Linked DNA regions of Homo sapiens: regions 2, 3 and 4 are each linked to region 1. Evidence: promoter capture Hi-C in human tissues and cell types (Jung and others, 2019). All regions are on one chromosome and are shown on one strand. Each heading gives the region's core, a stretch centred on a gene start or on the middle of the fragment in contact. The rest is flanking DNA. Distances are from core to core; before and after follow the strand shown.

Evidence for each region. Contacts are between HindIII fragments. The study calls those that stand out against the background at their distance.
Region 2: a contact is called between a fragment that was not itself captured here and the fragment with the promoter of TGM6 in region 1, in 1 of the 25 tissues and cell types used here (adrenal gland).
Region 3: a contact is called between a fragment that was not itself captured here and the fragment with the promoter of TGM6 in region 1, in 2 of the 25 tissues and cell types used here (ovary and thymus).
Region 4: a contact is called between a fragment that was not itself captured here and the fragment with the promoter of TGM6 in region 1, in 4 of the 25 tissues and cell types used here (H1 embryonic stem cells, pancreas, spleen and 1 more).

The regions. Positions count from the first base shown.
Region 1 is chr20:2,379,459-2,382,638 of GRCh38, reverse strand. TGM6 (transglutaminase 6) reads right to left here and starts at 1,738. Exons shown (of 13, transcript NM_198994.3): 1 at 1,664-1,738. The coding sequence starts at 1,670. The HindIII fragment of the contact is 30,296 bases long and covers 1-3,180 here.
Region 2 is chr20:2,432,838-2,436,017 of GRCh38, reverse strand. No RefSeq gene overlaps it. Among named protein-coding and RNA genes, the nearest start is that of SNORD119, 29 kb to the left of the region's middle. The HindIII fragment of the contact is 3,952 bases long and covers 1-3,180 here.
Region 3 is chr20:2,325,225-2,328,404 of GRCh38, reverse strand. TGM3 (transglutaminase 3) reads right to left here. Exons shown (of 13, transcript NM_003245.4): 8 at 2,453-2,556; 9 at 40-285. Among named protein-coding and RNA genes, the nearest start is that of TGM3, 31 kb to the right of the region's middle. The HindIII fragment of the contact is 4,472 bases long and covers 1-3,180 here.
Region 4 is chr20:2,342,866-2,346,045 of GRCh38, reverse strand. No RefSeq gene overlaps it. Among named protein-coding and RNA genes, the nearest start is that of TGM6, 36 kb to the left of the region's middle. The HindIII fragment of the contact is 8,143 bases long and covers 1-3,180 here.

The sequences.
Region 1 (3,180 bases), core at 489-2,988:
AAGACCCAGGAATTGAATCCAATCCAACACATAGTCCATTTACATAGGCATGACAACTCCAATGCTGACATTTCACAGACGGAGAAACAGAGCTTCAGAGAGAGGAACCCAGCAAGTTAGTTACAGACCTGACAATGGGCATCATCATCAACTTTTTTCCTTCCTCAGAAACTAACCTTCGCACTGTCAAGTTTAAGTCTGATAGGTTATCAAAGGCCCAGGGAAGAGGGATCATCTAGGTGAACTTTGAGAAGCAGATCTTGGAGGAACAAAGGCAATCCCCTCTGCACCAGGGCCATCAGGGAGGCAACCCCAGCTCTGGAAACAGGCAGTCTGGGCTGTGAGCTGGTGTTGGCAAGGCCTGGTCTTCAGAACAGACCTATCCTAGGAGCCTGAAGGGCCCAACACGTCCAGCAATGCTGTTAACTGCCAGGAGGAAATATGAAGAGGAAGCTAGACTATGATGAGGAAATTCAAATATCTGCCTTTGAAAGTTAAAAAAATATTTGATTCATAAAACTGTCACATAATGCTGAACAATTAAAACTGGCAGACACAGACTCAGAAACACCCCTTGAATACCTGTGAGTGTAGGACCCCTGGTTCTGCTGACTTGCTCATTACCGGGCCCCAGCATCTAAGACAAGTTCTTGCAGAGGGAGTTTGCTGCTCACTATATTGAGGTCGTGGGGGACACATTATCTTACTTTCTTTTTTTTTTGAGACAGGGTCTCACTCTGTTGCCCAGCCTGCAGTGCAGTGGCACCATCTTGGCTCACTGTAGCCTCTACCTCCTAAGCTCAAGCGATCCTCTCACCTCAGCCTCCCAAGTAGCTGGGACTTTGGGTGTTCCCCACCATGCCTAGCTAATTGTTGTATTTTTTTGTAGAGACGGGGTTTTGCCACATTGCCCAGGCTGGTCTCAAACTCCTGAGCTCAAGAATTCCACCCCCTTCAGCCTCCCAAAATGCTGGGATTAGAGGCGTGAGCCACTGTGCCCGACCCACATTTTCTGAGTCTACTGTTTACAAGTCCCCACTTGAGATGTGTGGTGGGAGAACAGCACACGTGGTCTCACCAACTCCTCACAGCAAGGCTGTGAGATAATTTGCATTATAATCCCCATTACACAGATCAGAAAACAGAGGTACCAAGGGCAAATTTTCTTGCTCAAGGTCATATAGCTGTTTTCACTTGAGCCAGAGCTGCTCTTGCCCTCAAGTGCTTGGGGTGGGAATCAGGCGAGGATGCAGCCGGTGGGGGCCTCTCACTCCTTCCCACGCAGGCCACAATTCCCAACTATGCCCAGAAACGTCTCTGGATCCATGGAATGTGCATGGGGTGCAAGGAGATTTTCTTTTTTCTGCCCCTGCCTTCCTGTGCCTGCCTCCTTCAGTCCTCCGAGGCACAGGGGTGAGACCTGGCCCCAGCCCAGGAGACAGCGCCTGAGCCAGCCTGGGCCATGGCCTTGCTGGGTGGCTTAAAGCTGGCTTTTTCATCCTGGGCCTCATGAATCCACACGAAGAGTTCATGTGTTCATGGTGGACTATCCAGCTGTAAAATCCTAACAATCGATGATCAAACGTCATCCCACAGACCCGTGTTTCTTGAAGCCCCCCTCATGAGCCCTGGTGTCCCAAGGCCCCAGGCTCTGCCCACTTACCTGCCATGTGAAGGCCAGCTGGACTCCTCTGTTCCTCCACACAGCAGTGTGTGCACCGTCAGGACAGTGTGGCGCGTCACAGCAGCCAGCCAGACCAATTTTAACAAGGAAAACCTTGGGACACTCCTAGGCAGGAAAGTCAGAATTCAAAAGAGGAGGCGTGGCCCTCCACCCTAGCAGCGACACCCACGAGACACAAAATCATCCTGTAATTGCACCTAGAGGGGTTCACTGTGGGAGTGGCTCCTGCCAAGAGACCTTGGAAACACGGAGTTGCGAATGGGACTGTGGAGAAACTGAGGCTCAGAAAGGTCACAAGCCTGGCAAGAAAAAGAACGGGGAAAGAGAGAAGACTGAGGGAACTCGGATTTATGGTTGGCCATTCTTAGCCCTCACAACAACCCTCAAATGAGAAAAAACAGGCTCAGCGCCAGGACCCCGAAGTACATGGTTGCACGCTGCAGTGCCGGGTCAGTCTGTGGCTCCCTCTCCCCTCCTGGGTGAGAGCAGAAGACTCCTGGGCCCACAGCTCCACTCTGTTCTGCAGGCATCTAAAGAGGCAGAGGTCCATGATCCTCCTTCAGGGCCACTAGACTTCCTTGGTGGACACTAGACTCTTGAGAGGAGGTAGATAAGAAAAAGGGGAGAGCTGGTTCTGACTCAGAAGCTAGGCCCATCTGCCCTGACTTTGTGAGTGGCCTCCAGCCAGGAGCTTAGAGGCCTGGTGGCCATGGGTGTCCCGTGACCTTGGACAAGACCTCTCCCCTCCTGGAACCCTGGTGTTTCTACCTACAAACTAAAGGGATTGGACTCAATTATTCTTCAGGGCCATTCCAGCTCAAAGTCTAAGATTCTGGGCTTGAAGGTGCTGGAATTCAAGGCATCTGAGGTCTTTTGTTAATGAAATAGAGGGGATTTTATTTTCATGGAAGCCGGTGGGGTAGGTTTCTTTTTGCCGGAGAAATGCTTTGATGGATGACTTGGGGCTATCGAAGGCTGGATGTGGCCTGGGCCAGTGAGGAAGGGGAAGTGGGAGGGGGTAGAATCGAGGGAAAGAGACAAGGAAGGGTAAGGAGACAACCGTGTGCTGAGCACAGTAGGATGAGGCCGCTCCCTGGGATCACCCCAACATTCAGGAAACTGCATAAAAACCCCAAAGTGTTTGATGTGGTTGGATTTCTTACAGAAAGTGGCAAAGAGGCTGAGTTCTGCTTCCTGGTTTCACGCAGATCAAGCGTCTTTAATGAGCTGTCTGCAGACCCACATAGCCTTATAATTACTGACATCTGGCAGCAGCCCAGGGCAGCTCCTTCCTCAACACCCTGCAGGCTGCTGCCCTGTAGACCCTGGGCCCTGCTGAAGCTGCTTTTCTGCCTATGCAGGGTCAGGCTCCTCCCCACTAATGATGGTCTTATTCAGGGCCCTTTTATCTTTCATCCTGGGCTTGCTTGGACGGGAGCTCCCAGAAGACAGGGCATCAAAATCACTGCCTGCCCCACTGCTCGAGACCCCAAATA
Region 2 (3,180 bases), core at 506-3,005, 53 kb before region 1:
AGTCTGGGGTCGGTACTGTCTGGTACTGGACCAGGACTCCACGTGGAGCCCAAGCTCTGTCTAGAGCCAGAGTCAAGCCAGGATTTAGCTATGGTAGGATCCAGGGCTTAGTGTGAGGCCAAGGTCTGGGGCCCATCTGGCATCAGGGTCATGACCTAGTTAGCCTCTGAGTCACGGCCGTCTTTGGGGTCACGAGCACAAGCTGGAGCCTCATCCTAGTTTCAGTCCGAGGCTTGTTAAGGGCTTGGCCTTGGCTCAGGTTTAGGCTCGATGCTAGGGCAAGGTGTAGCCTGGTGTCAGAGCTCAGTCCTGGAGCAAGATTGGAAGCAATGTGTTGTCCTACGGCAAGGTCAGTCAACTACAACCTGTGGGCCAAACTTGGCCTGCCACCTGTTTTTGTAAGTAAAACTTTATTGCAACACATCCAGGCTCATTTGTTTATGCACTAAGTATGGCAGTTTTCATGCTATAGCAGCAGAGTTGAGTAGTTGTAACAGAGACTCTATGGCCTGCAAAGCCTGAAATATTTACTATCTGGTCATTGGCAGAAAAGTTTGCCAACCTCTGTTCTAAAGGTTTGGAGGCCCCTCTGGTATGTGAAAGCTCAGATCCCTGACCTAACTTGGTGTCAAGGGCCTTCATGAAGTTTCAGATAGTGTTTAAGAGACAGGGGGACTCAATGGAAGCAGGAGTCCTGAGACTCAGTAAAGCCCTGTTGCTGGTGTCCTTCTGAGTGTCCCATGGCCAGCCAATTCTAAGGCTTTTCTCAGTCTTGAACTACCTGTTCTGCCCTTCCTGTGTTAAGCACATGGTCAGGGTCTTGCCCTACCAGCTGAAAGGAATTCCCTACCTGCACATTTTTCTTTGTAATTTCCAAAACCACATTCCCACTCACACTCTCCCTTGGACTTCTAAGCTGTCTTCTGTCAATTTCTCTACCTCTCCCACTCACAAGCAGGGCTTTCTCATTGGCTGTTGGGGCGGCTTCTGCTTTCCACTGGGGCTGGAATAACCAGGGAGGCCACTTTTGTCCCATTAAAATGCTACTCGAAGGCACCAAGGGCAAGAGCGTTGTACTGGAAACAGAGCTATGTGGCAGGTGGCCCTCACCACCTTCAGCTACATTCCCCTCCCTAAACACCTACAAGGGGACTTCAAAAGGTTCATGGAAAAGTAACATTAAAACATAAACATAAAAAGTAGAAACTTTATTTCTCAACATGAGCTCTGTCAAGTTCAAGATATTTTTGTAAATAATAATACCTGCCATTTAGTCTATTCCTAAGTAACTGAGGGTCCAGGGGATTTAACCATGTCAACACAGTCTTTTTTTTTTTTTTAACACAATTAACTGAAGAAAAACGGGCACCCTTTAAAGATTTTGTTTTTAAGATTAGGAAACAGGCTGGGCCCAGTGGCTCATGCCTGTAATCCCAACACTTTGGAAGGCTGAGGCAGGAGGATCGCTTGAGGTCAGGAGTTTGAGACGCACCTGACCAACATGGTGAAATCCCATCTCTACTAAAAATGCAAAAATTAGCCGGGCGTGGTGGCACACGCTTGTAATCCCAGCTACTCAGGAGGCTGAGGCGGGAGAATCGCTTGAACCCGGGAGGCAGAGGTTGAGGTGAGCTGAGATCGCGCCACTGCACTCCAGCCTGGGCGGCAGAGCAAGACTCTGTCTCAAAAAAAAAAAAAAAAAAAGAGATTAGGAAATAAAAAGAAGTCAGATGGAGCCAAATCAGGACAGTATGGTGGATGCTTAATGAATTCCAGTCAACCCTCTCACAAAATTGCCTTTGTTTGATGAGAGGAATGAGCAGGAACATTATTGTCGTGGAGAAGGACTCTCTGGTGAAGCTTTTCTGGGTTTTTTTCTGAAAGCTTCAGCTAACTTTATCAAAACACTCGTAATAAGCAGGTGTTGTTACTCTTTGGTTCTCCAGAAAACCGACAAGCAAAATGTCTTGAGCATCCCAAAAAACAGTTTCTACAAGCTTTGCACCTGACCGGTCCACTTTTTTTTTTTTTTTGAGACAGAGTCTTGCTCCGTTGCCCAGGCTGGAGTGCAGTGGTGCAATCTCGGTTCACTGCAACCTTCACCTCCTGGGTTCAAGTGATTCTCCTGCCTTAGTCTTCCGAGTAGCTGGGATTACAGGCACACACCACAACACCTGGCTAATGTTTGTATTTTTAGTAGAGATGGGGTTCACCTGGCCAGGCAGGTCTTGATCTCCTGACCTCAAGTGATCCGCCCACCTCGACCTCCCAAAGTGCTGGGATTACAGGTGTGAGCCACCGCGCCTGGCCGGCTGGTCCACTGTTGCTTTGACTGAACCATTTCCCCCTCTTGGTAGCCATTGCTTCGATTGTGCTTTGTCTTTAGGACTGTATTGGTAAAGCCATGTTCCATCCTGTTACAATTCTTTGAAGAAATGCTTCGGGATCTTGATCCCTTGTTTACAATTTCCACGGAAAGCTCTGCTCTTGTTTGCAGCTGATCTGGGGGCAACAGTTTTGGCACCCATTGAATGAAACATTTTCTCAACTTTAATTGTTCGGTCAGAATTGTGTAAGTTGAGCCCTGTGAGGTGTTTGCTGTTGTTTGTGCTGTTAGTCACTGGCCCTCTTCAGATTTGGGGCTGCAGATTTTAGAGGAATGCAATCCAGTTTGGGCCCTTCCTTTATCTTCTTAAGATTATCCTAGGCAGCAATCGCCCCTCAGATCCTGGGCCTGTGTCTTCACTGAGGGAAAATCTCCCTTTGCTTAAAATCTAATGCTTTTTAGGATCGGGACTTAGGAGGTATAAATGGCACACACATGGGCCTCCACTCTGCCTCTAGCTCACCCTGTGGCCTCTGTAAGTTTCCTTCTTCTCTGTAATGGGAGTGTTGAGGGATGGTTAGGTTCCAGCTCTGATACTTTTGGATTCTCTGTCAGGACTGTGGGGAGGATCCTTGGCTCTTGATGTGGCCAGGGCATTTGAAAAGCAAGGAGAGTCCAAGGGTCAGCCAGGGTGACAGCGAGGTGGCAGGGTGGAAGATGGCAGAGCTGAGTGGGCCAGGGTTTCTCTGATGCTCGGGTCTGTCAACCTCCCAGCCATGGGGATGAGAGATGAAGGTTGGAGAGGCTCCCTCGGTTCTTACATCATCTATGGTTGTCCAAAAGTTTAAGGATTA
Region 3 (3,180 bases), core at 441-2,940, 54 kb after region 1:
GAACCTCTCGCGGCACTGCCCCGCCAGCGTCCCTCCTACCTTCTGGGTACTTGTACTTGTCCGTGACGTCCATGCGAGCATTGCTGCCCACCGCCTTGGTGCTGATGTACCTGCCAATGGTGTGACTGTTCACGGAATTCTTCCACTGTTTGCCAGTGGTGTTGTCGTACAGCCAGGTGATGCGGTCGGCATTAACCTCCGCGAAGATAAAGGGCATGTCGAAGTTCAGCTGCACATCACCCTCTCGAACACCAATGACCGAAGCGGGGCCGCACTGGAACACCCCTGGAGGCCAAGATGCAGAGGCTGGATATATGCCAAGGCCACAACCTACCCAGTGCCCGATTCCCCAGGGCCTTCCAGGACCACTGCAACCCCCTGCCTCTGCCCCGCCCAAATTCCTTCACCCCTGACTGTGTGTCCCACTCATTTGGCATTCTGCAGAGACCCTCCCGGGCTATGATTCTCTTGCTGGTCGAACTCAACCTCTACATAAGACTACACAATTCCGCATTCCGGGCGCCTAATCCATGCTGACCCACTGTCCTTGGTCTGTTTCCTAAAGAGGAAAGTCTTGCTTTCTCGTGCTCAGGGTGGCTGCCTCTTTTCTACCTCTGCAAGTCATTCTGGCCTAGAAGCTCATCACCTTCCTAGTCCAGGAAGACTTCCCTGAACAGGCAGCCTGCAGGGACCTCTTGTTCCTCTGAGCTCCCAAGCCTGACCATTTCTTCCCTCTTCTTAGCACTCAGCATAGGAAGCTTAGATAGATAGATAGATAGATGTCAGTGACTTTCAGCTTTTTTCACCACAACCCCTAGAAAGAAATACATTTGACATCTTGGCACACATATGATACAGAAACAAAAGTTTCACAGGACAATGGTCTTTAGTCTAACTATATCTTTTTTGTTTGTTTGTTTGTTTTTTTGAGATGCAGTCGTGCTCTGTCGCCCAGTCTGGAGTGCAGTGGTGCAATCTCGACTCATTGCAAGCTCCGCCTCCCGGGTTCACGCCATTCTCCTGCCTCAGCCTCTCTCAGTAGCTGGGACTACAGGCGCCCGCCACCACGCCCGGCTAATTTTTTTTTTTTGTAATTTTAGTAGAGACGGGGTTTCACCATGTTAGCCAGGATGGTCTCGATCTCCTGACCTCGTGATCCACCCACCTCGGCCTCCCAAAGTGCTGGGATTACAGGCGTGAGCCACTGCGCCCAGCCTAGTCTAACTATATCTAATGAGCCTTGATAGTTTATGTTCTTTTCCCTGCTTTCCGTTCCATTCCATTTCATTTTCTTTTCCTAAAATGATGGACACAGCCCACTAACTAGATTTTATAACCACTAATGGGTTGCAATGAAACTTTTGGAAAATTGTGGCCTAGCAAATGTCTCAGTTACCTCCAAGCCCCCAAATCTAGTAACGTGCACTGATTCTGGTAGAGGAGCTAGGGGTTGGGGGTGTGGTAAGACTTAAGTTTTATTGTTAGTCCTTTTAGAATAGTTTGAATTTTTTTCAACTACATGCACATATTACTTCATATATCACATTTTTTTTTTTTAGACGGAGTCTTGCTCTGTCTCCCAGGCCGGAGTGCCACGGCATGATCTCGGCTCACGGCTTTACCTCCGTTTCCTGAGTTCCAGCGATTCTCCCACCTCAGCCTCCCAAGTAGCTGGGATTAAGGCATGTACTATCATGCCCGACTAATTTTGTATTTTTACTAGAGACGGGGTTTCACCATGTTGGTCAGGCTGGTCTTGAACTCCTGATCTCAACAGATCCACCCTCCTTGGCCTCCCAAAGTGCTGAGATTACAGGTGTGAGCCACCACTCCCAGCCCCATAAATCACTTTTTAATGTTTCAAAGAACAACTGAAAATGAGGGTAACAGACAAGTCATGCTCTAGAGGTCAGAGAAGGGAAGAGGAAAGGCTCCAGGAGAGCCTGGGACCCAACCCCTGATGGGGCAGGAGACAGAGGGAGGCCAGAGGAGGAAGCAGAGGCCCGGGATAGGGATGGCAGAGGCAGCCTGCCTAAGGGGGAGCTTGGTGTGGCAGAGAGAGCTGCTGTGGGTGGTGACCAGTGGAGAATGTGGACTAAACCCCAAGGGCAACAGGGAACCATGAATTTTCTGTGCTGGGAAGGAGAGGCTGCTGCAGTTGGTGAAGGAAAATCATTACTGGCAGAGGAAGGCTGCTCTCTCTGCCCACCTGGCCTGTGCCAAGGCTCTGTGCAGCAACAGTGGCCATTGTGGGTGCAGGGCAGGCACTCATTTAAACAGCAGCCCGAGCCAAGCAAAATTAGCAGGGGAGATCTATTTTTAAACTATTTTTGTTTTAATCCCATCATGCATTCCAGAGGGAGAGGGCTTTGGAGTTACTTCCCTATGCTGCTGTCCATGGCTGTAAATAACTGTGAGGCTCACGACTCAGAACCACACCCAGAGAAGTTACCTTGGCTTCTTTCCTGCGGGGTAGCATCCAACACCTGCCATCCACCGTACGAGGGGCCCAGGTCAGACCTCACAAACCAGCCTTCATTCCAGACATGGAAATTCCTGCAGATAGAACCAGAGACTGCAGCGCTTGCCCAAGACCACACAGCAGATGAGTGGCAAGACAGCACATCTTTGCCCCAACAGTGCAGCATGACAACATGCATCGAGTGAGTTTGCCCTGTGACGGCGGTTATGCTAAGCCCTGGTGAGCATCGTCTCGTGGAAATCCTCACAGCACTGTGCAATAGGTACCATTTTTATGCCCGTTTTATAAAAAGGGAAACTTGGGCTCAGAGAAGTTAAGCATCTAACAATGGCAGGGTCAAAATGTGGACCCATGTATGCCTAACTCAAAAGTCAAAGCCTTGACCAGCATGCACCTTTCTAAGGAGCAGAACGAATCCAGATTGGAGCCAGCCACCCAGGGGCAAACCCACACAGCTTTCTCCCTCTGCCTGGCGGGGTATGCTTCTGTGCTTGGTGTTGGCCGAAAATGAATGGGGTTGCTGCAGGAGTGGCTGACTTATCTAAGAGCCACACCGTCTCTTGGCTGGGATCTGAACTGAAGAATGACACCTGCCAGTCCTCAAATGTTCTTTGTCTTATGTCTCAATTAGTAAGCCTCAGTCACCACTCACCCCTCACCGGGCACAGCCAGGTAGCCAAGGTCTTACTCATTCTGTC
Region 4 (3,180 bases), core at 211-2,710, 36 kb after region 1:
AACCTTAGAAAAGTGACTAGCATATTTTATACTCTCAATGAATATTACATATTAAAATTCAATCAGTCACTTCATTCATTCATTCATTACCAATTTCATTTACTTTTTGGCTCTTTTATGAATTCTTATGGGTGCTTATCTACACCAGGTATTATGCTAAGTGTGGAGAATGTAGGGCTAAAGAAGACATGGTTTTTGCCCATGACAAGCACAAAGTCTAGGACAGGGGAGGAGAGACGTAGGCCAGACGACTTTAAGCCAAGTGGTCCAAAAAGACAATGAAGGGAAAGCATAGAGAGAAAAAAAGAGACCTCGTGTGTTTGGATGCAGTGATGTGGGAGGAAGATGGGGAAGGTTTTGCAGGAGAGGAAACATTTGAACTGAGCACTGGAGAGTGAATAAATATTTTCGTGGTGATAATTAATATAATACAACAATAAATAATATCCTATGCTGTATAACAAACCACATGAAAATGTGGTGACAAGACGACAACCAGTTCTATGGCCAGCAATTTGTGTTAGGCTCGGCTGGAGAGTTTTCTACTGAACTTCACTCCAAACTCAAATTTTAAAATAGATATAGGGATACTTTGGATATCTATTTCTTCCTCAATGGGTTTTGATAGTTTGTGTCTTTCAAGGAATTTGTTCATTTTATCTAAGTTGTCAACCTTTTTTTTTTTTTTTTTTTTTTTTTTGAGACAGGGTCTGGCTCTATTACCCAGGTTAGAGTGCAATGGCCCAATCTTGGCTCACTGCAACTTCTGCCTCCTGGGCTCAAACCATCCTCTCACCTCAGCCTTCTGAATAGCTGGGACTACAGGTGTGTGCCACCGTGCCTGGCTATTTTTTTTGATACAGACAAGGTCTTGCCATGTTGCCCAGGCTGGTCTTGAACTCCTGAGCTCAAGTGATCCTCCAGCCTTGGCCTCCCAAGACTACAGGCATGAGCCACCATGCCCAGCTAAGTTGTCAAGCTTTTTATGCATAAGTTTGTCCATAATATTTCTAAATTATTCTTCAAATAGCTATAGGGTCTCTTATTCCTGATATTAGTAATTTGTGTCTTTCTTATTTTTTGCTGATCAGTCTGGCTAGAGACTTATCAATGTTATTCATGTTCCGAAAGAACCCACTTTTAGTTACATTGAATTACTATTTTGTTTTTCTATTTTCTGTTTTATTGATTTATGCTGTTTGGTATTTCCTTTTCCATTTATTTTAGATTTTAGGTTTAATTTCTTCATTTCTTTCTTTTTTTATGAGACGGAGTTTTGCTCTTGTTGCCCAGGCTGGAGTGCAATGGCGCAATCTTTGCTCACCACAACCTCTGCCTCCCAGGTTCAAGAGATTCTCCTGCTTCAGCCTCCTGAGTAGCTGGTATTACAGGTGCCTGCCACCACGCCCAGCTAATTTTTTAGTTTTAATAGAGACGGGGTTTCTCCATGTTGCTCAGGCTGGTCTCGATCTCCCGACCTCAGGTAATCCATGGGCCTTGGCCTTTCAAAGTGCTGGGATTACAGGCGTGAGCCGCCGCGCCCGGCCTGGTTTAATTTCTTCACTTTTTGGCTGCCTAAGGTGGAAGGTGAGTTCATTGATTTTTTTCGTTTCTAATATAGACATTTTAGTGCTATAAATATTCCTCTGCTGCATCCTATGCATTTTTATATGCTGTGTTTTTAGTTTAAAATACTTTATAATTCTCTTTAAAAATTTCTCCTTTGACCCATAGGTTATTCAGAAGTCTTTTCTTTAGTTTCCAAATGTTTGGAGATTTCCAGATATATTTATGTTATTGTCATCTAATTTAATTTCTTTGCATTCAAAGAACATTGAGACTACTTATAATTTTTATTCTTGATGGATTGATTCTTTTATCATTCAAAAATATTCTTTTTCTTTAGTAACAATCTTTGGCTATTTTGTTTAATATTTGTATAGCCACTCCAGGTTTGTTATGGTTACTATTTGTATGGTATATAATTTGTATTCTTTTACATTTAACCAATTTCTATTCTATATTCAAATTTGATTTTTTGTAGCAGTATATAGTTGGGTCTTGCTTTTTTACCCAATCTGACAATAGCTGCCTTTTATTTGGGTGTTTGGGCCATTTACATTTAATGTGATTATTAGTATGGTTGGGTTTAATCTACCATATTGCTACTTATTTTTAAAATCTGTCTCAACTATTCTTTGTTCCCTTTTCTCCTTTTCTGCCTTCTTTTTCTATTAATTGAGTATTCTTTACTATTACATTGCGTTTACTTTGTTGGTTTGTTACTGATAACTGGGTTTTCTTGTTGTTTTCTTTTTTTTTTAGATGGAGTCTCACTCTGTTGTCCAGGATGGAGTGCAGTGGTGCGATCTCAGCTCACTGCAGCCTCCACCTCCCAGGGTCAAGAGATTTTCCTGCCTCAGCCTCCCAAGTAGTTGGGATTACAGGTATGCACCACCACACCCAGCTAATTTCTGTATTTTTAGTAGAGACGGGGTTTTGACATGTTGGCCAGGCTGGTCTCAAACTCCTGACCTCAGGTGACCTGCCTGCTTCAGACTCCTGAAGTTCTGGGATTACAGGCGTGAGCCACCATGGCCAGCTTGTTTTCTTTTCTTTTTCTTCTCTTTCTTTTTTGAAACAGGGTTTCACTCTGTCAACCAGGCTGAAGTGCAGTGGCACCATCTCGGCTCACTGCAACTTCTGCCTCTCAAGTTCAAGTAACTCCCCTGCCTCAGTCTCCTGAGTAGCTGGGACTACAGGCATGTGCCACCACGCCTGGATAATTTTTTTTTTTTTAAAGTAGAAATGGGGTTTCACCATATTGGCCAGGCTGGTCTTGAACTCTTGGCCTCAAGTGATCTACCCATCTTGGCCTCCCAAAGTACTGAGATTGCAGGTGTGAGCCACCACGCCGGCCTTCTTTTCTTTTACTGGTTTCTTTAGGTTTATAATACAGATCTTTAACTTGTCACAGTCTATCTTCAATTAATATTTTATTACTTCATGTATTATATAAGAAATTTACATCAGTGTTTTTTTTTCCTTCCTGGCCATTGTGTTATTATTTTCATACATTTTACTTCTACAATGTTGCTATTATTTTTGCTTTAAATGTAGAGGATGCCACCACTGAATTTCTTAGTGATGTTGATGCCTCTGTCACTACTCATTTCTGAT